Regions from separate parts of the Homo sapiens genome. Here all the other regions are linked to region 5. The links are contacts of gene promoters, found by promoter capture Hi-C in blood cells and fetal thymus (Javierre and others, 2016). All regions are on one chromosome and are shown on one strand. Each heading gives the region's core, a stretch centred on a gene start or on the middle of the fragment in contact. The rest is flanking DNA. Distances are from core to core; before and after follow the strand shown.

Region 1 (4,091 bases), core at 23-2,522, 870 kb before region 5:
TTTTGAGAATCAAAGTGCCCTATGGTTGTTAGTTGATACTTTCTTGGTTTACGTCACTCATAATCTAAAGTGCAGTACTGACCTTACTCAGACCGGTTTACCACTTAGGCTGCAGGGGTAGAAAAGAAGGAAGAAAAGCAAACTGATCAGACAGCCAGGTCTTTTCCGATGTGCAAACCAGTCTACATTCTTATGATCCAGTGGCATGAAAAGGAGAGAAGACAGAAGTGAACATGTAAGTGGTGATATTTTATTGCCTAATAGCCCCTCTGCTAACAGGCATGGCTAGTGTCCTGGAATTGAGACTTGTCCTTGAGGACTGTCAAAGATGGTAGGAGGGAGGAAAAAAGTGGGAGCCTTCTCTCTCTTAGGCATTTACATGGTACGTCTATTTAGAAACGTTACAACTTTAACATGTGCTTCTCCCCTTGCCTGTAGAACATCTGTATGGAGGCATAAGTAGGAGTGGGAATACAATAATATTTAATTTGGGGATTTTTTTCCTTTACAGCTCCTTGGATCGCACACTTGAGCGAGTGTGGACAGTAGAGGAGCAGGAAGGCTGTGCATCACTGGACAAAACCACTTTCTTGGGGCTCTTTGTCCTGTGACTTAGTTACAAAGAAAAGAACGTAGGAATGTACAACACTGTGATCCTGCACCAGGCCCTATGCTCAGGAGGGATGTGGAGATAGGAAATAAAGCAGAAGGGTAGAAAAACTGTGGTAACTTGTATAGCCTATTGGATGGGGTGGTTGGTTCTGCCTGGGAGGAACAGGTAGTTTCCAGTTGTTTTAGGAGCTTTCTTCCACTGCTTTCCTTTCCCCACCCTTTTTTTTTTTCTTTTTTTTGCCTTAGAATGTAGTATATTTAGCCCTGTTCAAATTACTTGAGTACTCGCATTGCAGGGATATGTGGGTAGTTGTGCGCAGCAAGTCATTTTAGCGGGTAGACAATCAACAATATCAGCAAAATAAAACGTCAAGTTTAGAGGGTGAGTGCGTAGTTTTCTCTCACTTATTAATATATTTGGAGGAATTAAATTTTCTTACATTTCTAAAGCCCATACTTGGATTTGAAGATTATGTTTCTTAGAAGGCTAATATTTAGTGATCAACTGTTTGTGCCAGGCCCTATGATGGGTGCTTTCATGTACATCATTACATTTTTCTTTTTCTTTTTCTTTTTCTTTTCTTTTTTCTTTCTTTTTTTTTTTTTTTTTTGAGACAGGGTCTCACTCTGGTTGCCCAGGCTGAAGTGGAGTGCAGTGGCATGATCTCGGCTCACTGCAGCCTCCACCTCCCAGGCTCAGGTGATTCTCCCACCTCAGCCTCCTGAGTAGCTGGCAGTACAGGTGTGTGCCAACACACCTGACGAATTTTTTGTATTTTTAGTGGAGACGGGGTCTTGCTATGTTGCCCAGGCTGGTCTTGAACTCCTGGACTCAAACAATCCACCCACCTCAGCCTCCCAAAATGCTGGGATTACAGGCATGAGCCACTACACCTGGCCATCATGACAATTTTCAAAGCCCCTCTGAAATTCTATTTTTATTCCCATTTTACAGATAAGGACATTGAGACCCAGAAAGCAACTGCTCAAAAGTCTAGGGAAAGACTCTAGCAATTTCAGTGATTTTATAACAATAGATTGCCTTGGAGATGTATTTTTTTTTTCGGAAAGTAGGTCAGGTTCTAAATGGATCATTTAGAACGGACAGGAGATAGGGAAATACTGGGTAGAAAAGGGTGGTTCCCTGGCAAGTGCCCCACTATCAAGCCAGGATACTCATGCCCCTAAATGGAGACAGGCATTCCTGTTTTCATGCCCAAAAGCTGCCTTTTGGCTCACCACAGCCCCTATCCTGTACCCATGTAAACCCCAGACTGCAGGCTCCAGAAGCAGACAAGGAGAAGAGTAGACAAGTGGCAGAATGGCGTGGGAGAGAGAAGAGAAGGGCCATCCGAATGCTGAGAGAAGTTTGGCTGGGGATGGTCAGAGAGGAGATTGGCTACTGGATGGCCAAACTCCAGGGGAAGAACATCTTCCCACTCCATCCCCCTTCCAGCTCCCCATTCGTCTCATTGAGAGCAATTTCCACCACTCAATAATACCCCCACATTCATCCTTCAAGTCTGTATGTGACCTGACTCTTCTGGGATGTTGGACGAGAGCTTGGGTACAGAAAGCTGTCACACTGGCCCTCTGCCATTGTGAAAAGGCAGAGAATTCACTGAGCTGGTTAACAGATAAGCTGCCCGCGAATGGCAAGGCTGAAAGAGTACACTGTAACACAGCCCATTTGGGCTTTGGGAGTTGCAGGCTCTCAACCCTGAATGCTGCCCTGGGGCTGGAGCCCAGGGGTGCTTACTCTGGCTCCTGAACCTACCTGTCTGCATGCTCCCCTCACATAAGGGGTTTGAGGAGCAGTGGTTACTGAACAGATGAGTCACATCCCTGTCTCACGTTCAGCAAGGGGTGTCAGGGAATTCTCCCATTTCAATTTCTCAGTGTTTTCTCCTACGCAGTCTGTTGTGGTGGTGGTCATTAGTGCCATCCAGCAAATATTTTGGCATGAGCTCCCTGCTGTGGAGTAAGAGGGCATTTCATCACTTTCTTGAAGGTAGACATAGACAGTGAAATACGAGAAGAAGTGATACAGCATTACCTCCAGTAAAAGCTGTGAGAGCTATTGAATTATTTGCCTTTGCCCCATTTTCCTTCTGCCATGGCAACTGGAAATGCTCTGTTAGCTTAGGTCCTGGAGTTAGGATGATGTAGAACAATGACCTCAGACAGCCTGCAATGTCTGTGTAGTGCAAGTGAGAAACAAACCTTTTCTTTAAGCTGCTGTGTTTATCATAGCAGCATAGCTTAACTTATTTTGACTGATACACTTTTGTGACATGGGTTTCATGCTCCCCATGGCTTTCAAATCTATATCTGTTAGGTTAGAAAACTCTTCTGTGGTCATCTTATTCTATAATTAAATCCAAGGCCTACTTAGAAGCCTTGGATGTTACAGAGTTTCAAATGGTACAGACAGACTGATAAGCAAAATTTATCCAGTAAATGTTTATTGAGTTCCTATGAAGTGCAGAACATCATGAGGGATCCAGAAATAAATTAGGTTGGTAACCTGCCTCAGAGAAATTAGAATCTAGCAGGGAAGGGCTCTATTTATGTATTAAATGTATGCAATGAAATGTACATGGTTTGTGCATTTATTCAAATATACTTGTATAAGGTCCATGACTACTGTATTTGTCAAGTGTTGGGGATTTTGTAGAGCAAAAAGAGATATGGTCATTTGTACATGGAGTTAGGGCCTAAAAAAGGAAATTAAAATTAATCACACAAACATAGATGAAATTATAACTGGGGTGGGGGCTATAAAGAAGCACATGGTGCTATGAGGACTTATAACAGGGGGAATTATTTAGTCCAAGGGCATAATGAAGAGCTCATAGTTAGTTTGTGGAAATGCCTTGGGCTCTGCAATCAAGCAGACCTGGGTTTAAATTCTGGTTCTGCCACTTTGAGCCATAAGACTCTGCTCAAGGCATTTTACTTTTCAAAACAGATATGAATGTATTTTTCTCAGGGTAGTTGTAAGACTAACATAAGCTTTTGACTGTGGCAGTGCCTGCATACCGTATATGCTATTAAATGTTTGTTACTGAGTCTCCTTCCCCTATGTGATTGATTCTATATGACCAATGCAGAGGATGCTGATGGCGAGTATGGGTCTTTCTGGGGGTTAGAGAAAGTTTTGTGAAAAAAAGTAGCATTTGAGCCCAGACTTGAAGAATGGAAAAGGTTTGAATAAAAATAATTGTAATCATATGGTGAGATGATAATTATAGGAAATGGAATATTACTTAGTAGCTAAGATCATAGGCTTCTGAATGAAACAGACCCTAATCAAAGGATCCATCATTATTAGCTCTGTGACCTTGGGGAAGGTGCCTCTTCTCTCTATTTGGAAGTTTCCCCATCCATAAAATGAGGATAATATTGGAACTATGCCATAGGATCGAGGTAAAGATGAAATGATAAAAGCATGTAAGATATTTAATACAGATCCTGGT
Region 2 (4,188 bases), core at 1,347-3,846, 800 kb before region 5:
TACTTTAAATGTAGTGGTTGCTGGAGCACCTAAAAGTCAGACTGTCATGTTGGAAGCCTCTGCAGAGAACATTTTACAGCAGGACTTTTGCCACGCTATCAAAGTGGGAGTGAAATATACCCAGCAAATAATTCAGGGCATCCAGCAGCTGGTAAAAGAAATTGGTGTTACCAAGAGGACACCTCAGAAGTTATTTACCCCTTCACAAGAGATTGTGAAACATGCTCATAAACTCACTATGGAGAGACTCTATGCAGTTTTTACAGATTATGAACATGATAAAATTTCCAGAGATGAAGCTGTTAACAAAATAAGATTAGATACAGAGGAACAACTAAAAGAAATATTTCCAGAGGTCGATCTATATGAGATAATAGAATCCTTCAATACTGTTGCAAAGAAAGTTTTTAGAAGTATTATTTTGAATGAATACAAAAGATGCGATGGTCGGGATTTGACTTTACTTCGGAATATAAGTTGTGAGGTAGATATGTTTAAAACCCTTCATGGATCAGAATTATTTCAAAGAGGACAAACACAGCTGCTTTGTGCTGTTACATTTGATTCATTAGAATCCAGTATTAAGTTGGATCGAGTTATAACAACTATAAATGGGATAAAAGATAAAAATTTCATGCTGCACTATGAGTTTCCTCCTTATGCAACTAATGAAATTGTCAAAGTCACCGGTATAAATAGAAGAGAACTTGGGCCTGATGCTCTTGCTGAGAAAGCTTTGTATCCTGTTATTCCCAAAGATTTTCCTTTTGCCATAAGAGTTACATCTGAAGTCCTAGAGTCAAATGGGTCATCTTCTATGGCATCTGCATGTGGTGGAAGTTTAGCATTAATGGATTCAGGGCTTCCAATTTAATCTGCTGTCACAGGTGTAGCAATGGGATTGGCCACCAAAACCGATCTTGAGAAGGGTGAAATAGAAGATTATCATTTGCTAACAGATATTCTGGGAATTGAAGCTTACAATGGTGACATGGACTTCAAAATAGCTGGCACTAATAAAGGAATAACTGCATTACAGGCAGATATTAAATTACCTGGAATAACAATGAAAATTGTAATGGAGGCTATTCAACAAGCTTCAGTGGCAAAAAGGAGATTTTACAGATCATGAACAAAGCTATTTCAAAACCTCAAGCATCTAGAAAAGAAAATGGACCTGTTGTAGAAACTGTTCAGGTTCCATTATCAAAATGAGAAAAATTTGTTGGACCAGGTGGATATAACTTAAAAAACTTCAGGCTGAAACAGTTGTAACTATTAGTCAGGTGGATGAAGAAACGTTTTCTATATTTGCACCAACACCCGGTGCTATGCATGAGGCAAGAGACTTCATTGCTGAAATCCGCAAGGATGATCAGGAGCAGCAATTAGAATTTGGAGCAGTGTGTACTGCCACAATAACTGAAAGCAGAGATACTGGTGTAATGGTAAAATTATATCCAAATATGATTTTGGTACTGCTTTATAACACACAACTTGATCAATGAAATATTAAACATCCTACTGCCCTAGGATTAGAAGTTGGCCAAGAAATTCAGGTGAAATACTTTGGATGTGACCCAGCTGATGGAAGAATGAGGCTTTCTCATAAAGTGCTTCAGTCTTCAGCTACAACTGTTGTCAGAACTTTGAATGACAGAAGTAGTATTGTACTGGGAGAACCTATTTCACAGTCATCATCTAATAATTCTCAGTGATCTTTTTAAAGAGAATTCTAGAATTCTATGTTTTCTAGGGTAATGTGCTATAGAGCAAAATTTTAGTAGTATCTTCCGTTGTGTAGCTGTGTATACAGTATAAATATATTCTAATTATTTGTATTAAAATGCTCATTTACATGTGCCAATTTTTAAATTCAAGAGTAACCCATATTCGCTTAATCTTATTTACATTATAAATCAAGAAATATTATTAAAAGTAAGTCATCCATACATCTTAGAAAAGATTACATACTTTTTTTTCTATAATTCTGAAATATATGAAAAACTTAGATATATGTCATATATGTTATTATAACAGATCTCTTCCTATATCTCATTTGTCTTCTTTATATACAGTAGTGACAATTTACCCTCAGTCATCCTATAGCTCACCTCTTTGCCCAACAACTTTACTTGCCTACGACTGTTCACAAACTGGAACAGGCCATATTCAAAGCCAGTGCCTATTTCTTCAGAATGGTTACTAGACATAGTAAGTTGAGGGAGCTAATCTGATACACTTTTAATAATACGATGCCTTCCAAGTTGGTTACAAAATCATGAACATAGTGGAATAAATATAAATGAGATTCTAACTAGGATGAGGTAGTAATTATGTATATTTTTCAAATTTACCTAAACATAGGAAAATTATTTACTTGTCTAATTGAACTAGGTCACTTTTTGAATATGTATATTGCTCTAATGTATGGAAGTTCTTAGTATAAGAGCTGGAGGAATCATCACTTTCAGTTAATAGATGTTTGAAATAGATGTTTAGAGGTTACTGATATACATGTCAACTTGTTCATTCCCATCATTTAAAATATCACCTTATAATTCCACACAAAAGTAAATGGTATGTGGACGTCATAATTTAGAATATGTTATCTTTTTAAAAATCTTATAAAAATACACCGGACTCAGTGGCACATGCCTGTAGTCCCAGCTACTTGGGAGGCTGAGGTCGGAAGATCACTTGAACCCAGAAGTTCAACACTGTAGTGTGCAATGATCATGCCTGTGAATAGCTACTTCACTCCAGCCTGGACAACATAGCAGGACTCTATCTCTAAAAACAGTTTTAAATCTCATAAAAAATAAGTAAATCTGGCCGGGCATGCTGACTTGTGCCTGTAATCCCAACACTTTGGGAGGGTGAGGCGGGTGGATCACCTGAGGTCAGGAGTTCGAGACCAGCCTGGCCAACATGGCAAAACCCTGTCTCTACTAAAAATACAAAAATTAGCTGGGTGTGGTGGCAGGTGCCTGTAATCCCAGCTACTTGAGAGGCTGAGGCAGGAGAATCTCTTGAACCTGGGAGTTGGAGGTTGCAGTGAGCTGAGATCACGTCACTGCTCTCCAGCATGGGCAAAGAGAGTGAAACTATCTCAAAAAAAAAAAAAAAAAAAGTAGGTAAATTTATGACTCAGGGCTAACTAGTTCATAAAATATTAAAAGTTTAGCTGGTTAAACCAAAGATTTTAAAGATATGTATATTTATATCAAACATTGATCATGTATCTATTGTGTGTAAAACAGCATGTTAGGCAATGTTGATATACTTTCTGAAATATTAAAGATTAATTGAAATTGAAAGATTAAATTAAAAAAAATATGTCATTGAGATGAGTGATCAGGAAAGGCCTCTTTTTTAGAAGTGACATATAACATGAGCCCGGAATTATAAAAGGAACCAGCCTTTCACAATGAAAAGAGCACTCCTGACAGTGGGAGCAGCATGTACAAAGGTCCTGCACTAGAAAAAGCGTGGTATGTTTTGAGAATTTAGAGAGTTCAGTATACCAGGAGCAGAGGGGTCAAGGAAGAAGGTGGCACGCCATGAGATTAGAGAAGTAAGCGGACAAATAATGCCTGATCTTATAGGCAATGGTGAGGGGTTTGGATTTTATTGTAAACGGAATGTCTTTAAAAGATCACTCTGGCTACTGTGTGGCAAATGAACTGGAAGTGGAAAAATCAGAACAGAGAGAGAGGTTAGGAGGCAGTCCAGGAACAAGATGTTGGTGGCTTGGACTAAGGTGGGGTCAGAGAAAGTGGATAGATGTTTTCGAGATACACTTAGGAGGTCTTACTGATGGTTGGCTGTAGGGAAAGAGTAAAGAAAAGATACCAATTCAAGGCTGACACTGGTAAGATGATAGTTCCATCTAGTAGATAGAGAACAAGCAGGGAGGAACAAGTCTGTAGTGGGAAGGATGGGGGGTAGATGTTTACATTTGCACATGTTAAGTTTGAGCGGCCTGGGAGACCCAGAAATAGAACTGTTGATTCTAAGTCTGGAGTTCAGAGATGTCAGAACTGGAGAAATACGTTTGGATGACTAAGTCTGTCAATGAGAATAAAAGCTTGGGAAAAGAATGAGATAAGGAAGAGGAGGAGAGAGAAAGAAAGAGGCCCAGTTGTGAACTTTGAGAAACTCTTAACATCCCCCCACAGCCTTGAG
Region 3 (4,288 bases), core at 784-3,283, 970 kb before region 5:
ACAAGATGATAGGTCCCTAATGTCTTCCTCAGCAAACCCTGTGCACCCCTTTGAATGAATGTCACCTATGTTCCTTTCAAATTGCCTTTTTGAAGTCTGCCAACATAAAACTAAAAGGTACATCTCCTTTCTCTGCTGAGCCCCAGCAGTTTTCCCTTACCTGAGTTTACAGTGATCTCCTTCCTTGCTGACCATATGACAATTTTCAGAGAGGGTCTTACTTCAAGTTGCAGTCATATATCAAAAAAAGCTGTAATTTTGATGTATTCTGGAAGTGGGATGCGGTGGTTGCCCAGATATTGGCTGGTGAGCATCCTCATCTTTCCTCCTACAATGCAGTTCTTAGAAAAACTCTTATTTAAAAATTATCAGTCTATGGACCTGTTTTCTTCAGCAGAGGGCACACAGTAGGCAATCAAGAAATATTTTTTTGAATAGATGAATGAGGCAGTGTGGATGCCTCAAAAGAGCCCAGGTTTGGGGGACAGATCAACGAGAGGTTGAATTCTGTTTCAGTTACTTCATAGCTATGTGACCTTTGATAACTCACTTAATGGCAATGAAACTCATTTATTCATCTATAAAACAGAGATAATAGTCCCCAGCTTGTAGGTTTGTGGCAAGGATCAGATGAAATAATGTATGCAAAGTGACTGGAACATAGTTGGTGCCCAATAAGTGTTAACTATCTTATTATTCATGCTGGAGTGGTAATTCTTTAAATTTTAAGTGAATAAATGAAAAATGAATGAAATTCCATTGATGGGTGGAAAGCTTCCTAGTGGGTTCCTGGTGAGGTTAGTTTCCCCAGGATTAGAGTCACTTTATGTGATGGTTGTGAAGGAGAATAAAAACACTGTAATTCAGACCCAGAATCCACCATCATGCCTTTCTCCATGCTGCCAGTTCTTTCTGGAGTAGCTCTGCCCCACTTCCTGGATACCTCCACACATTCTACCACATGTAGCTCAGGAGTCACCTCCTCCTCTGAGAAACCTTTCTGGACATCTCAGTCTAGGTTTGGTGCCATGCCATTCCATTTAATTCTGCCATAGTCCATGTTACAGTGTTCAACTAGACTTGGGTCACTAGCCCCAACTGCCTGACTCTTTGCAAGTTGAAGGAATGAATGGGTGGATTGTTGTCCAAATTGTGCAAACAGATCTGATGCCTTAGGCGGGAGTCCTAACCTAAGCTCCAATTTCCTCAGTAAGATAAAGATGGAACTTGACCTCCCTGCCTCCTAACAGACTTAAAAATATATTTCTTTAAAAAATTTTATATTAAATTATTCTAAAAGCAATTGTAGGCAACAATAATTTCTATACAATCATGTTGCTGAATACAACATACAGAAATGGAATATGTTTTACAATAACTATACAAAGGAGGTGAATGGTAATGTAGTTATGTTGAAATAAGGAAATAACACCAGTTTTTAACTGAAATCCATAGGCAAAAAGTGAAAATGAAAATGGTAAATAAGAAAGTTAATATTTTTTAGGGCTTGAATATATTTTTTATTTATAAGGAGTTCCTCTGTCATTGAACAGTGGAAAAACTGGAAATACAGTAAAAAAAAAAAAAACCTACAAGGCGGGGCATTGTGGCTCACACCTGTAATCTCAGCACTTTGGGAAGCCAACATGGGAGGATTGCTTGAGGCCAGGCATTCAAGACCAGCTGGGGCAATATAGGAAGATCCTAACTCTACAAAAAATAAAAATAAAAAATTAGCTCGGCATAGTGGCATGTGCCTGTAGTTCTAGCTACTTGAGAGGTTAAAGTGGCAGAATTGCTGATTCCAGGAGTTCGAGGCTGCAGTGAGCTATGATTGCTTACTGCATTCCAGCCTGGGCAACAGAGTTACATCCTGTCTCTAAAAAAGAAAAAAAAGAAAATCCTCAAGTAATTGATCAAATATATGTTTCTGCTCAATTTTTTAAAAATTTTATTGTATGTATTTACGGTGTACAACATGATGTTTTGATATATGTATCCATTAAACTTTTTGAGGATCAGAAGTGATTGTAGCTGTAACTTTGCAGGGTTCTGAGAGCTCGCTTGCAGTTCTCAGAAGAATAGGGCTTGGTTTAGGACCAGGCTTTTTGCTTAGCTTATGCCAAACAACTAGCTTTTATTGTGTTGGGTGGAGACTGCAAGCTGACCAGATACCAAATATCTCTGCCAGGGAGAGAGACTAGGGATGTATAAGGTATTCTGAAAATGTTTTCTTCTGTCTATCCATGAGTCCATCAGTAACAATGATATTACTCAATAGCGCTTTTGGAGTTAAGTGTCTGGGGTTTTGTTTGAGAGGTGGGGTTGGGTGCAGAAGGTGGGCTGAATTAATGGTTGTTACTAGCCTCAGGACAGCCTTGGGCTGCATGAAGCATTGGTCTAGCCAAGTGTAGACAGTTTGATTTATAGAAGTAAGTTATTTGTATTGAAGCTCATGTATGAGATAAGTTATGGAGCTGATCCACATACTGTCACTTCTGTTTTAGAAACCACACTGGGCCAGGCACGGTGGCTCATGCCTGTAATCCCAGCACTGTGGGAGGCTGAGGAGGGAGGATCACTTGAGCCCAGGAGTTTGAGACCAGCCTGGACACTATGACGAGACATCAGAAAAAGAAAAAGAAAAAAAAAAAGCAAATCCGGGTGTTGGGGCCTGTGCCTGTAGTTCTAGCTACTCGGGTGGCTGAGGTGGGAGGATTGCTTCAGCCTGGGAGGTGGAGGTTGCAGTGAGCTGAGATTGCACCACTGCTCTCCAGCTTGGGCAACAGAGCGAGACCCTGTTTCAAAAAACAAATAAACAAACAAAATCCAGACTGCTCTTCTAGACTGTCCAGAAAGTGACTTCTTGAATAAACCCTTTCCTATCTCTCACTGCTTTGTGCCAGGCAAATTTCTAAGTTCATTTCAAACATTAAAATTTTTCCAGTTCTGTGTTCTTTGCACTGCTCCCTTCCCCAGTGTAGTGCTTCTGTATGATCCTAATCTTTATTAACCTTTATGGCCCATAGTCTGGTCTCGGGAATATTGGTTATTTAGATATTGATGTGAGGTTACATTATGAATGCTTGTATTTTCATCATATTAATACTTGAACTGAATTGGGGAACAAAGGTCATTGTTTCCCATTAGCAGGATTTCAGAAACCATCCAGCAAGTACAGGAGAATTTTGAGATGATAGAAATGGCTATTTACCATGCTTACATGGGAAGGTCAGTTATGCCTGGAGTTGTCGTACCTGTCCCAGTGCATCTTTTCTCTATATCAAGCTTGTCTAACCCATGGCCCACAGGCTGCATATAGCCCAGGTTGGCTTTGAATGTGGCCCAACACAGATTCATAAACTTTCTTAAAACATTATGAGATTTTTTTGTGATTTTTTTTTTTTTTAGCTCATCAGCTATTATTAGCATATTTTGTGTGTGGCCCAAATCAATTCTTCTTCTTCCAGTGTGGTCCAGGGAAGCCAAAAGTTTCGACACCTCTGCTCTATATACTTGCATGTGTGTGTGTGTGTGTGTGTGTGTGTGTGTGTATATACACACACATATATATACACATATATACATATATACGTATACATATACACATATATACGTATATATACACATATATACATATATACATATATACACATGTATACATATATACATATATACACATGTATACACATATATACATATATACATATACATATATATACATATATATACACACATGTATATATATATATTGTGTATGTATATTTATGTTTTTCTTCTTCCCTGTAGGGAGAAGCACCCCAGACTAGCAGCAGCACTCCATATTTACATGTATAAATATCTATATTTTAATGTTTATCTATTATATGTTGATATATATATTTATATTCATTATACATTTCCTTATATGTGTTTAAATATATATTTGCATGTATGTGTGTGTGTATAGTCATGTGTTTGCTTGTTCTCTGTTGCATGAAACCCCTAGACTGACAGACTGTGCTACACTGTTTCTTGAGAACAGCGATTCTAAAAGATGAGGCCCCCACCAGACGTTAATCCTCTGTTGAAGTGTGACGAAGCAGGCTGTACATTGGACTTCAGGTGTGAAGGCCATTTGTCCCCTTGGTGTTCCAGAGGAAATAGTCTGTCACTTTCGAAGAGAGCAGAAAGAGTTTGCTGGCCGTTTTGGGGCACAGGGAGACAGCTAAAGCCTATGGAACCTGATAATATCAGGGGTCTCCTCCTATCTGGTTGCTACCTCCCTGAGCTCCTAAGAACAGAAGAG
Region 4 (3,900 bases), core at 155-2,654, 850 kb before region 5:
ACTGAGACACTGATAAGCAAACTTGTTGGAATTTCACTCTTGGCAGCCTGATGCCAAACCACTACACTCTGTGATCACTGTAATCTTCTCTTATCAGATGAAAATATTTGTATCTTTTTTTTCCTGCTCTTAGTAATTTCCATACTTTGCCTTTAACTGAGCTATCTGATACCAGACATCTTGGCATTCAGGCTGCTCTCCTATGTCCATCTGGATGCTATGATAATAGAGCCTCCATACCTCTAGGCCAGGCAAAGGAGAAAATAATTTTAAAACAAGGAGTTTGCAGACTATCACCTGGTGGCTCTGTGATTTGGTTTCTCTGTGTCCCTACCCAAATCTCATCTTGAATTGTAGCTCCCATAATCCCCACATGTTGTGGGAGGGACCTGGTGGGAGGTAATTGAATCATGGGGGGTGAGTTCCCCCACACTGGTCTTGTGGTAGTGAATAAGACTCACGAGGTCTGATGGTTTTATAGGGGGAAACGCTTTTCGCTTGGCTTTCATTCTCTCTTTGCTGGCCTCTATGTAAGATGTCCGTTTGTTCTTCCTTGCTCTTGTGCCATGATTGTGAGGCCTCCCAGACATGTGGAACTGTGAGTCCATGAAACCTCTTTTTCTTTATAAATTACCCAGTCTTGGGTATGTCTTTATCAGTAGAGTGAAAACAGGCTAATACATTCTGTTTTTTTCATATATAAATGCAAGGTATATTCATATATTATATATATTTTATATATATATATTATATATATATTATATACACACACACACACACACACACACACATACTCCTCTCCCTCTATATATATATATGTATGTGTATATATATATGTATGTGTATATATATGTATGTATATATATGTATGTATGTGTATATATATATACATACATACATACATATATATATTCCATTAGCTCTGTCCCTCTAGAGAACCCTGACTAATACATTTGGCATGTTTTAATTTGTTTAATCTACTCAATATCTATTGGGGTAGTTGTTGCTATTATTTCCATGTTAAAAGTAAAGCTAATTTACTTCTTCAAGGTCATGCATCTGGTAAGCTTGGGACTAGGTTTTAACCCAGGCTATTTGACTCTTAGGACTGCATCCTCACCTAAGACTCAATAGCATTATTTCCATTCTGTAGCTGAGCTAATTAAGATCCAGAGTGAAATTAAGGTTTGTTATAGGCCACCCAGGTGGCAATTCTAGGACTCTGACCAAGTTTTCTGCCTTCTATTTGGAGGCAGTAATGATACATCAGAATTATATGGAATCAGAGAGAGAGTTCAATTCACATCATGGATCTGTTGGACAATAAACTTGAGGCCTTGGGTAAATCATGGATATTCTCTAATCTTTAACTGACTCAGGTAAAAAATGGGGGCAATCATACCTATTTCCTTAGGTTATCAGCAGAATGGAGATAATGCTTGTAAAATGTCTTGCATGAAGTGAGTAAACAATAGCTGTTATTATCAGTCAGTGTTCTTTCCACTACACCAGCTGCCTCTCTAGAAATAATTGAGCAACTCTCAATTATTTTTAGCATGAGCCATAGGCTGTTGGCAGGCACTACCTGATAAACCAACATCAGCATAGGGGAAAGGCTCAGAGATATGTCCCAGACCTGAGAAATACAGTGGCTGAGACTAGGATACCTAGTAAGGTTCCAGTGAACTTGATATATCTAACGCAGTCAAAGCTGAGAATTGGGGCTTATTAATAAGCTTCATCCTCTTTCCTTAGCTGTTTTCCTAGATGAGTTTCTGGTAAACAGGATTGCTCATTATCTTTTCTGGTGCATATAAGCTCCCTCCTATAAGATGAGATTCCAAAGGCAGTTCTGGAAAGCTGAGCAAAATGTGGTGTTGAGGAAGTGGTGAAGGCTGAAGATTGTTCTTTGTGTCACATTATAAGTATTGGAGTAGATTACTGAAATACATATTGGTGGTTAGTTTCTAAAGCACGATCCCTTGAATGAACATTGATGTGCCCCAGAAACAGAGTTCTGTTCAGAATGATTTATGGTCCGTGGTGCTATGGTGTGATCTGAATTACCTTTGAAAGGAAGAGCAGATATCAAATGAATTTAGAGGATAGAAATAGGTGGATAAGCATAAACGCAGAAATGTTCCAGGTTTCTCAGTTCCTTGCAAGGAGACTTTTGGGGCATACCTGAAGCTCTACTACCTGACACTTACTGGCACTGAAGGTTAAACTGTAGAAATGTGTGAATTGTCTGCTCCCTTCTGAGGTTTGTGTATTTCTCTTTCCGCCAGTCTTTCCCTCCTAAAAAAGGAAAAAAACAAGAGGAGTAGAAGGAGGCTCAGAAATAGTGACATCTAGCCTGTCTTGGTGGCTGCTTTTCAATAACATGAACTAACGTACAGCTCTTTTAGATGTGTTAGGCATCTCAGGCAGAAGAAATGATCAAGTCCGTCATATCCAACTTGATTTTTTTTTTATCGAAATGAATTCCAAAAAGCCGTCCTGTTGGTAAGGTAGGTACCTCTATAAGCTCTGGACTCAAGTGGATCTACCTATCTCTAAATCCTACCTCTGTCACTTAATAGCTATAAGTCTATGGGAAAGTTACCTTATTTCTCTAACCCACAGTTTCCACATCTGTAAATTGGCAATAATCATAGTGCCTATCTATTACATAGGCTTATTATAAAGATTAAAGATTAAATTAGAAATATACTACTTAACAATATCTAGTCTGTAGTACACATTCGGTGTTATCTCCTGCCCCAATTCTATGGATGTATTAATCTTGGCAAGTTACAATGGGACTAGTTTATTCTACTTTTCTTGTAGGGTTAGTATTTAATAAAAGGTCAACCTTCACTTCAGAAGACAGAGCTTTAGCCAGGCCCAGCGAGGCAATACCCAGAACAGTGTTTGGAGCCAAGGAGAAGGAGAGACAGCATTAGGTGTTGACAAGCCCCTTAGGTATCTCCTGGCTCAGTCGCCTGGAGCAGGAGGTTCAGAGAACGTCATAGGCAACTGCTCTTACTCCTAGCCTGCTGCCGGGGCAGGCGGGAAACAGAAAGCTCGAGCCAGCCAGATTGCAGGTGCAAAAGCCACTGGAGACAGGAGCCCATTCCAAAGCTGCCTGGCACAGCTGTTTAAAATGAAGGTCGGCCAAATTCTGAGGCATCACCTCTATTGCTCTTGAAGAGAAACAAACCAACAAAAAAAGTAGACTTGAGAAACATGAATGTTTGATTTGGCCTTTCAAGGTGGTCAACTAGGGTGCTTTGAAACTATAGAATTAGACTAAATGTAAGTACAAACTCTGCTTTTACAGAGGGGGACACACAGAACCAGAGACGGAGATGAACTGTCCCATTCCACATAGCCATTGGTGCAGAGTCAGCCTGTGGCCTGAATCTCTGGACTCTGGCTTCTGTTACACAGCACTGCTGGCCAATTCCTCTTGGAAATTTGAGGGATACAAGTCATGCAAGAATCTAATATACTGAGTTTCTTAATAGTAAGTTTATGAAAAATAAGAAGCATAAATATGTTTCTCTATGATCTTCTAAATCTCCTAGATGGGCAGGATTTAGCTTACCCAAATCTGGACCTTTATAGCTTAAGAATGGTTTTTCTGGAAGCAAATGAGGGAGCAAACACAATACTTTTTATGTTTTTACCTTTGCTTGGCTTTTGAAACTTGTAACAGGTATCGCTTTAAAAAAAACCTTCTTTTTTAACACAGGAAAATAATATGCTTTCCTTTATATGAAAAGGTGGTACAGGTGATGCTGTTCCCCTGAAGGATGAAGCTGAGCTGCTTTTTGGAGTGGTGTTGATGGATTTGATAAGTGTACAGCACCATTATTTCACTGGCCCCTATTGTAACCAAGAATGGACATTTGCAAG
Region 5 (4,052 bases), core at 1-2,500:
CGTTAAATCATTACGTAGTATATGTAATTGTTATTAACCTCATCGTAAAAGGTGATGCTATGATTCATGTTGCAGACATTATTAACTGGAACAAATAGGCGACACTATTTGGTTCGTTCTTATTTTGCAAATGGGCGAATTGAGGCCCGCAGCCATAAGTGATTTGACGAAGACCACAGACTGATTCGGAGACAGGAGGCAAAATGACACAGGAATGATTCACAAGCCTCTGTCACAAGGGAGTTTTCTGCTTGTAACTTATCAGGGAGGCAAATTTTCTGAAATCATTTTTTCAAATCTCAGATCCATGACTTTTCTGTTGAGCAATGCTGCTGCTTCCTCTCAGCCTCCGCCCACCACCACCACTACCATGTTTAGATGTTGTATTTCATTTAAGGATTTTTCAGTTTTCCTTCCTCGCTGAAAAAGTGATACTGAAATACACTACGAAAACTTTTGTCCTCCCTCCAAAACAAATATCTTACCAGTCACAACTCCACCATTATAACAGAATTATCTTCATTTTTTACATAGTCTTTCTTTTTTGCCACAGTGACTTGTTTTTACATAGCTGAAGTCATAATGAGTAGGCTAGTTTATATTCAGACAATTTTATTTACCAATTATAAGGCGTTTTCCATTCTGTGCAATCATCATTTCAAGTATGTTTCTGATTAATACTTGTTAATTTTGGAATGTAATGTACATATATGGAAACTACTGAAGTTATTGAAGTTGTATGTACATACATTGAAACTACTGAAGAAAATCAGCAATAATTCAACCACCCTCGGAATAACTGATGGATTTCCCCAGCCTTCACATATATGCTTCTTATTTTAAGAATTGAAACTAATGCTGCATGAACAGGTTTCTATTTGCTCCCTGCCCCCTTCGTTTAAAAACAAGGTGGAGACTAAAGGCTCTCAGCCTCAGTTTCTCCATATGCAAAATATCAGGATTAAATAAGTCATGCTAAGGGCTGGAACAAAGTGAGGGCTCTGCAGCGTGTACGCCGGGCACTCAGCCGTGGATGGCAGGGGACGGCGTTCTGTCCCCGGGACGGAGCGCAGGCCTGTAATTGTCCCTCCCGCCTAGGCCATCACTTTCAGGCTTGGGTACGCGCCGCCGTCTGCTCCCCTGGGGCCGCCAGGGGGCGCTGTGGCCCCGGTGCGCGGCAGCCGCGCGACACGGGCCCTCCCTCGGAGTCTTCGGCACCGCCCTGTCCCAGCCTCCTTTGCGGGTAAACAGACATGGCCGGCGAAGGAGATCAGCAGGACGCTGCGCACAACATGGGCAACCACCTGCCGCTCCTGCCTGGTAACCGCCCGGAGTAGTTCCCTGTAGTCGGGAGTGGGGCGAGGCTCGGAGCCGCTAGCGGTGCAGCTGGGCCTGGGAGGCGGGCGTGGGGGCGCCAAGCCTGGCGAGCCAGCCCAGCAGGGCCGCACCGGAAAGCTGCTTCACGTCGGCCCTCGGCCAGCGATGGAGTCGCGGCGCTTTCTTCGCTGCTCTGTTGCCCCGAGCCGTGAGCCAGGGTGTCGGGGGGAGCATTTGCTATTAAGAACAGGAAACCCATCCTCTCCATCCTCCTTGTGTTCTGAGTTTAGCTCCTAGGAAATGCTCTGAAACTAGAGGACCGGGTCAGATTCACAGCGGTTACTTTTGCTGGTCTCCTTCCTTTTAATAAGAGTGACAGCTAACATGTACTAAGCACTTACCATGTTACGAGCCGTGCAGTTAACGCTTTGCATGCATGTCGCCTTTTAATCCTTCCCACATCAGTTTTCAGTTTCCGATTTGATAAGCGAGTATTGGATTTGCAGATTAGTTCAATGACTTGCCCAAGGTCACACAGCAGAGTCAGGATTCCAACCCGGGTGTGTCTGTCATTATATCTCTAAACCACTTCTCTGTTTTGTTTTTCTTACTATCGGTCTTTCTCAGGCATGTACGATTATGCTTAATCAGAGATACTTAGTTTTTCTTTTTCCTGTATGTTGTGTGAAATGTTTAGACTTTGGCCTTGTGTTGAAATACTGAACAAAAAAAAAAATGCATGGAATATTGCATAAACTTTTCATGGAATGCCTTTCAAGAGATGCTTTCCAAAAGGTGTATCATCCAAACTTGAAAGTATTACTTGAGTCCCTTCGTTATATGACAAGTATGTTAGGTGTTGTGGAGATGAAACGAGAGGTAATACACAATCTGATAATTGAGGTTTACTGTCTAGGCGGGGCTGCTGAGAATATAACTAAACGTAAATCAACTGCAGAGGCGGTTGATTTAGGGCCAGATAAATGAATGCTGTTGTGGCTCTTCAGAGGCAGAGGTTGTTTAAGGGTCAGAGGATTTGGGAAAAAGCCTTTCAGGTAGATCAGGAGACATCTAAAAGCACATATTTAGGATATGGTTGTGGGACATAAGGCCTAGGAGGTATATTGGGTCTAAGTTGCTGGGAAACTGGCATCTCTTGCCAGTGGGTTTGGGTTTTTCCTGTGGATTGCCAAGAAACAGTTTTAGGTTTCAGGTAATTGCCTAAAGAAATCTATGCTTGGAAGATTAATTTGTCCACTGGTAGCAGCATGGATTAAAAGAGGAAGAGACTGAGTGCGTGCCCACCATATAGGAGAGAACTTTTCTGTAAAAATAAACCATAGTCACTGGTTGTTCTCGAAGCCATTCTAGCTGAGTTGACACAAGGGTAAGTGTGCCAGCCTTTGATGGAAAGCTGAGCTATTTTTTCAGAGACATTAGCCCTACTCTCTGTGCCAAATCCGGTGTTTCAGGGAGAATGGTGAATAGAAGAGGGAGGATACTGATCTTCTGTCGACATTCACATCGTGCCTCTGCATGAGATGAGTCATCAGACTTCACTGATAGCTCTGAACAGTCAGCGTGGTTTTTTGTTTGTTTTTTTTTTGTTTGTTTTGTTTTGTTTTTTGTTTTTCAGAAAAGCGTCGGGAGAGGGCCCAGAGATGGTGTAGATATAGCAATAATGCCTCTCCAAATTACGTAAATTTTATTTGTAGGGAAACACTGGGCTTTCCATAATTCCATGTAGTACGAGTTGTTCTGAAGAGTAAATCCTCTAAGTTCCAACAAAAAGCTTTATATTTGAGATGTGAAGAGTTTATCCTAGGCAAATGAAACATTAATAAACATAACTGAGTAGGGGAAAGTGGTTTTTAGCCATATTTATGAAAAAAAGGTTACTAAAGAAATTATTTAGAGACTAGGAGTCAGAACAGTTAAAATGTAAATTTTTAACAATATTAATTCCAGCCTTTGAGCTAATAGTTTATCTTTTAAACTTTCTGTAGTAGAGCAATAAAGTGGGTTGTGCTGCATGCCAAGTGATAGCCATACTGTCAGAGTTGGAAATACAAACAATTTGATGCAGAATATTTTTGTCATCCATTTAGATAGCTCTTTTTTTATCTCAGTGAAACTTACATGTTCCAAGGAAAATTTGTATGAAGTGTTAGACCATTGGCTATTTACATATAAGTTGAAGTAATTCTGTTTTTGACAAAGTTTTATATCTAGGAAGTTGTAATAATAAATAGAAAGTCCAAGGCAGTTACCATATTGAAAATCATTTTTATTTTCTGTCAGGGGCCTGGCTAGAGGTGGTTTGACTTAAATAATGATATGCAAAGGAAAACAAATGATTATTTCGTAATGACATTTTATCGATTTAGAAGTTTATTTGGGGCATTTAAAAATACATGAACTGGGAGGTGAGAAATGAGATTCAGTAATTCTTTATTGTTAGTCTAGGCCAGGGTCTCCCAACCTCAGCACTGGACTTTTGGGCTGGAGAATTCTTTGGGTGGGATTGTCTCGTGCATTGTAGGATATTTAGCTGCATCCCTGGCCTCTACCCACTAGATGCCAGTAGGACTCCCTTAGTTATTGCAACCAATATCCCCTGAGGGGCAAAATCACCTGTGGTTGAGAGTCACTGGTCTAGGATAGGAAATTTACTCATAGTTTGTATGAAAAGGACAGACTCACAGTTAGTACAATAGCATATGTATTGTGTAGCG
Region 6 (4,126 bases), core at 568-3,067, 830 kb before region 5:
GAGAGACCTTCTCCACCACAACAATGCTCCTGCTCATGCTTCTCAACAAACTAGGGCAATTTTGCAGGAGTTTTGATGGGAACTCATTAGGTATCCACCTTACCGTCCTGATTTGACTTCTTCTGACTTCTTTTTGTTTTCTAATCTTAAGAAACCTTTAAAAGACACTCATTTTATTTTATTAACAAGTAGAAAGACTGTATAGACATGGTTAACTTACCAGGACCCTCAGTCCTTTAGGGATGGCTAAATGGCTAGTATCATCACTTAAAAAAATGTCATGAATTTGATGGTGATGGTATAGAGAAATAAAGTTTATATTTTTTATTTTTATCTTTTAATTCCATTTTTCCAGAAAAATGGTTTTAGATTTGTTACGTGGGTTTACTATGTGATGCTGAGGTTTGAGGTCTGAATGATCCCATCACCCAGGTAGTGACCATAGCACCCCATAATTTTTTGCCCCTTTCCTCACTTTCCTCCTTTCCCCATGTAGTAGTTCCCAGTTTCTATTGTTGCCATTTTTATGTCCATGAGTACCCAATGTTTAGCTCCCACTTGTAAGTGAGAACATGCAGTATTTGGTTTTATGTTCCTCTGTTAATTCACTTAGGATAATGGCCTCCAGCTGCATCCATGTTGCTACAAAGGACATGATTTCATTCTTTGCTATGGCTGTGTAGTATTTCATGGCATATATATACTACATTTTCTGTACCCAAGGGGTCCCCAGCCCCTGGGCCCCAGACTGGTACCAGTCCATGGGCTGTTAGGAACTGGGCCGCACAGCATGAGGTGAGTGGTGGGCAGGTGAGCATTACCACCTGAGCTCTGCCTCCTGTCAGATCAGCCATGGCATTAGATTCTCATAGTAGTGCAAACCCTATTGTGAACTGCACGTGAGAAGGACCTAGGCTGCATGTTCCTTATGAGAATCTAATGCCTGATGATCTGAGGTAAAACAGTTTCATCCTGAAACCATTTCCCCACCTCCCCTCCCCACCTCCATATGGGGAAAAATTGTCTTCTGCAAAACCAGTCCCTGGTGTCAAAAAGGTTGGGGACCATTGCTTTATCTGATCCACTGTTGATGGGAACCTAGGTTGAGTCCATGTCTTTACTATTGTGACTAGGGCTGTGATGAACATATAAATGCATGTGTCTTTTTGGTAGAACAATTTATTTTCTTTTGGATATGTAGCCAGTAATTGGATTGCTGGTTTGAATGTTTTAAATTTTAAGTTCTGTTCTAAGGTCTCTGATAAACCTCCAAACTGCTTTTCACATTGGCTGAAGTAATTTATATTCCCACCAACAATGTATAAGCATTCTCTTTTCTCCACAGCCTCACCAGCATCTGTTGTTTTATGATTTTTTAATAATAGCCATTCTGACTGGTGTAAGATGGTGCCTCTTTGTGGTTTCGGTTTGCATTTCTCTGATAATTAGTGATGTTGAGCGTTTTTTCATATGTTTGTTGGCCACTTGTATGTCTTCTTTTGAGATGTGTCTGTTCATGTCCTTTTCCCACTTTTTAATGATGTTATTATTATTATTTTTTTGCTTGTTGAATTAAGTTCCTTGTAGAGTCTGGATATTAGATCTTTGTCAGATACATATTATGGGAATATTTTCTCCCATTCTGTAGGTTGTCTATTTACTCTGTTGATAGTTTCTTTTGCTGTGTAGAAGCCCTTTAGTTTAATTAGGTCCCACTTGTTAATTTTCATTTTTATTACAATTGCTTTGAGGACTTAGTCAAATTCTTTCCCAAAGCTGATGTCCAAAATTGTATTTCCTAGGTTTTCCTCTAGGATTCTTTTATTTAAATCTTTAGGTCTTACACTTAAATCTTTAATCCATCTTGAGTTAATTTTTACATATGGTGAAAGGTAGGGGTCCAGTTTCATTCTTCTGCATATGGCTAGCCATTTATTCCAACACCTTTTATTGAATAGGGGGTCCTTTCCCTATTGCTTATTTTTGTTGCCTTTGTCGAAGATTAGATGGCTGTAGGTGTGCAGTATTATTTCTGGGTTATCTTATCTGTTCCATTGGTCTATGTGTCTGTTTTTGTACCAGTACCATGCCATTTTGGTTATTGTAGCCTTATGGTACAGTTTGAAGTTGGGTAATGTGACACCTCTGACTTTGTTCTTTTTGCTTAAGATTCCACAAATTTTTTAAAGTCCCTTTTTATATCAGTGTGCCTGCACATATGTGGGTGGAAAAAGGAAATGGAAATTATACTTCTTCAAAAATCTTTTCCTTTTAATGTGTTTCAGTTTCAGAGATGTGGATCGGGCTGTGGAGGATATCATAAAGAAATTCATTTGGTGTAGGGCTGTGGGGGACGGTCAAAGCATTGTTTTGAACCTATCACATGTTTAGCCTGAACTCTAAGATCTAAGAAGCATTACACCCAGCCCAGAAATGATTAAATATTTGTAATCCTGAATTTTCTACTCATTAGCTGTGAGATTTTGTACAAGTCCCTTTGCCTCTGTGGCCTCAATTTCCTGTCTAGTAAATTGTGTATGTTGGGGCTGGAGATGATTGTAGAATTTTTGACAGAACTTCTGACGGTAAGTGTATAAAAAAGACTCATTCCCTGGGGATCTATGATAGAAACTTATTCTATTATGTAATTCAGCTCTTCCAAGAGTCCACTTGTCTTTGGATTATAGCAGTTTGTGGGCCTCATTTTAGGCCATATTGCATAAGACAGGATTGAATGCCTGGTGTATTTATTTCCAGTTAGAATTATGAAATGTGAGTACTAGTAGGGACTTTGTGAGTCAGTAAATACAGCCACTCATTTTGTGTATGAAGACAGCTGAGGCTCAGATAGGAAAAACAGAGAGCTGGAACTCACAACTGAAGACTGGCTTGTAGGTCCAGTATTGTTTCTACTACACTGAGTAGTTTAAAATATCTTAAAATAATCTCTGATATAAGTAATATTAAAATTTGGAAAACATAGTGAAGAATTAGTCTCTTTATCTTCCTTTTCTAATAGGAATATCATTTTTCTAATTATAAAAACAGTACATACTCATTGTAACAAAATCCAAGCCATTCAGAAGTGCATAGGGAGAAAATGAAGGATTCACTACAATCCCAGTCTTCCATGAAAATCACTGTTAATTTGATTCACCATTTTTACGCTTTTCTCTTTCTCAAACATACATACAAAGTTAAAAATTAGTTCATATTACACATACTATTTGCGTCCTACTTCTTTTTCTTAGCAATATTTAATGGACACATGGGCAACAGATGGACATAGTTTCTTGTTAGTACTAACTTACTGTGTTTATTGTTAGAATCTTGTTAGTATCTAACTTAGTCTGCTTATTGGCTGGATGATAGTCCAGTGTGTTACTGTACTATACTTAAGCAATCGTCTCCTGATGGATATTTATATTGTTTTCAGTCTTTATCTTAGGCATTGCTGCAGTAAACATCTTTCGGCATACATCTTTCCATATTTATCTGTTTCCTCATAAGAAATTTCTGGAAACCACACTTCAAGTTAATCACAGTATTTAGTTGCAAAGATGGCATAAATAGAGCAATACAGTTAGCCAATTCCTGTGGAAGACAAAAAGGATATTTCAGACTAAGGGTGATTTTAGGTACAAGTCCACAGAATGCACAAAGCTTTCTTTGGTCAAGCTTTGTAATTTTATAATCACAGTTTTGCAGGATTAGCTCCGTGTGCTGAATTCCAGTTCAGTGGATTCCACAAATCCTTTCTAGCTGCTCTCTAAATCATTGCTTCCCTTGGCTAAAGGTCACTGTAAATGGATCTAAGGAGGTGAAAGACGCCTAGAGTTTAGTTTATTTCTTCCAGCTCACAATAGTTATTTTCTTTTCAGCTTTGTTCTGAGTTAATCAGTTATGGGAGGTACTACCAATTATGTGTTAAGGAGTCAGGCAAAGAGGAAAAATATCACTTTCTTACTGATAAATTGTTGTTTATGAGAAAATAAGCTGATGATGTCTCTGAACTGGCTTATTGCCCAGGGGGATTATGAGAAAGGGAAGAGCCCCCCGCATAGCTTGGATTTTCTATTCCCTTTAGTTGCTTGAACTTTGCATTCTCTGTGATCCCCTAAAATAT

What was found. The method cuts DNA at HindIII sites, captures the fragments that hold promoters and counts their contacts. A CHiCAGO score of 5 or more calls a contact.
Region 1: a contact is called between a fragment that was not itself captured here and the fragment with the promoter of CRBN in region 5, in 2 of 17 cell types (M2 macrophages and M1 macrophages). The highest score is 6.5, in M2 macrophages.
Region 2: a fragment that was not itself captured here is called in contact with the fragment with the promoter of CRBN in region 5 in 1 of 17 cell types (M2 macrophages); the score reaches 5.2 in M2 macrophages.
Region 3: a fragment that was not itself captured here is called in contact with the fragment with the promoter of CRBN in region 5 in 2 of 17 cell types (M2 macrophages and M1 macrophages); the score reaches 7.1 in M2 macrophages.
Region 4: a contact is called between a fragment that was not itself captured here and the fragment with the promoter of CRBN in region 5, in 1 of 17 cell types (M2 macrophages). The highest score is 6.9, in M2 macrophages.
Region 6: a contact is called between a fragment that was not itself captured here and the fragment with the promoter of CRBN in region 5, in 2 of 17 cell types (M1 macrophages and M2 macrophages). The highest score is 8.2, in M1 macrophages.

The regions. Positions count from the first base shown.
Region 1 is chr3:4,047,881-4,051,971 of GRCh38, reverse strand. It overlaps a transcript of SUMF1 not described here. Among named protein-coding and RNA genes, the nearest start is that of LRRN1, 250 kb to the right of the region's middle. The HindIII fragment of the contact is 4,715 bases long and covers 1-3,629 here.
Region 2 is chr3:3,979,502-3,983,689 of GRCh38, reverse strand. It overlaps the pseudogene PNPT1P1. Among named protein-coding and RNA genes, the nearest start is that of LRRN1, 180 kb to the right of the region's middle. The HindIII fragment of the contact is 2,993 bases long and covers 1,100-4,092 here.
Region 3 is chr3:4,150,823-4,155,110 of GRCh38, reverse strand. It overlaps a transcript of SUMF1 not described here. Among named protein-coding and RNA genes, the nearest start is that of SETMAR, 150 kb to the left of the region's middle. The HindIII fragment of the contact is 2,514 bases long and covers 777-3,290 here.
Region 4 is chr3:4,028,436-4,032,335 of GRCh38, reverse strand. The region is part of intron 2 of LOC102723512 (a long non-coding RNA gene); the gene reads right to left. Among named protein-coding and RNA genes, the nearest start is that of LRRN1, 230 kb to the right of the region's middle. The HindIII fragment of the contact is 669 bases long and covers 1,070-1,738 here.
Region 5 is chr3:3,176,889-3,180,940 of GRCh38, reverse strand. CRBN (cereblon) reads left to right here and starts at 1,250. Exons shown (of 11, transcript NM_016302.4): 1 at 1,250-1,320. The coding sequence starts at 1,254. RefSeq lists a silencer at 1,017-1,186. The HindIII fragment of the contact is 7,719 bases long and covers 1-3,111 here.
Region 6 is chr3:4,009,943-4,014,068 of GRCh38, reverse strand. All of the region lies in intron 1 of LOC102723512 (a long non-coding RNA gene), which reads right to left. Among named protein-coding and RNA genes, the nearest start is that of LRRN1, 210 kb to the right of the region's middle. The HindIII fragment of the contact is 3,697 bases long and covers 1-3,665 here.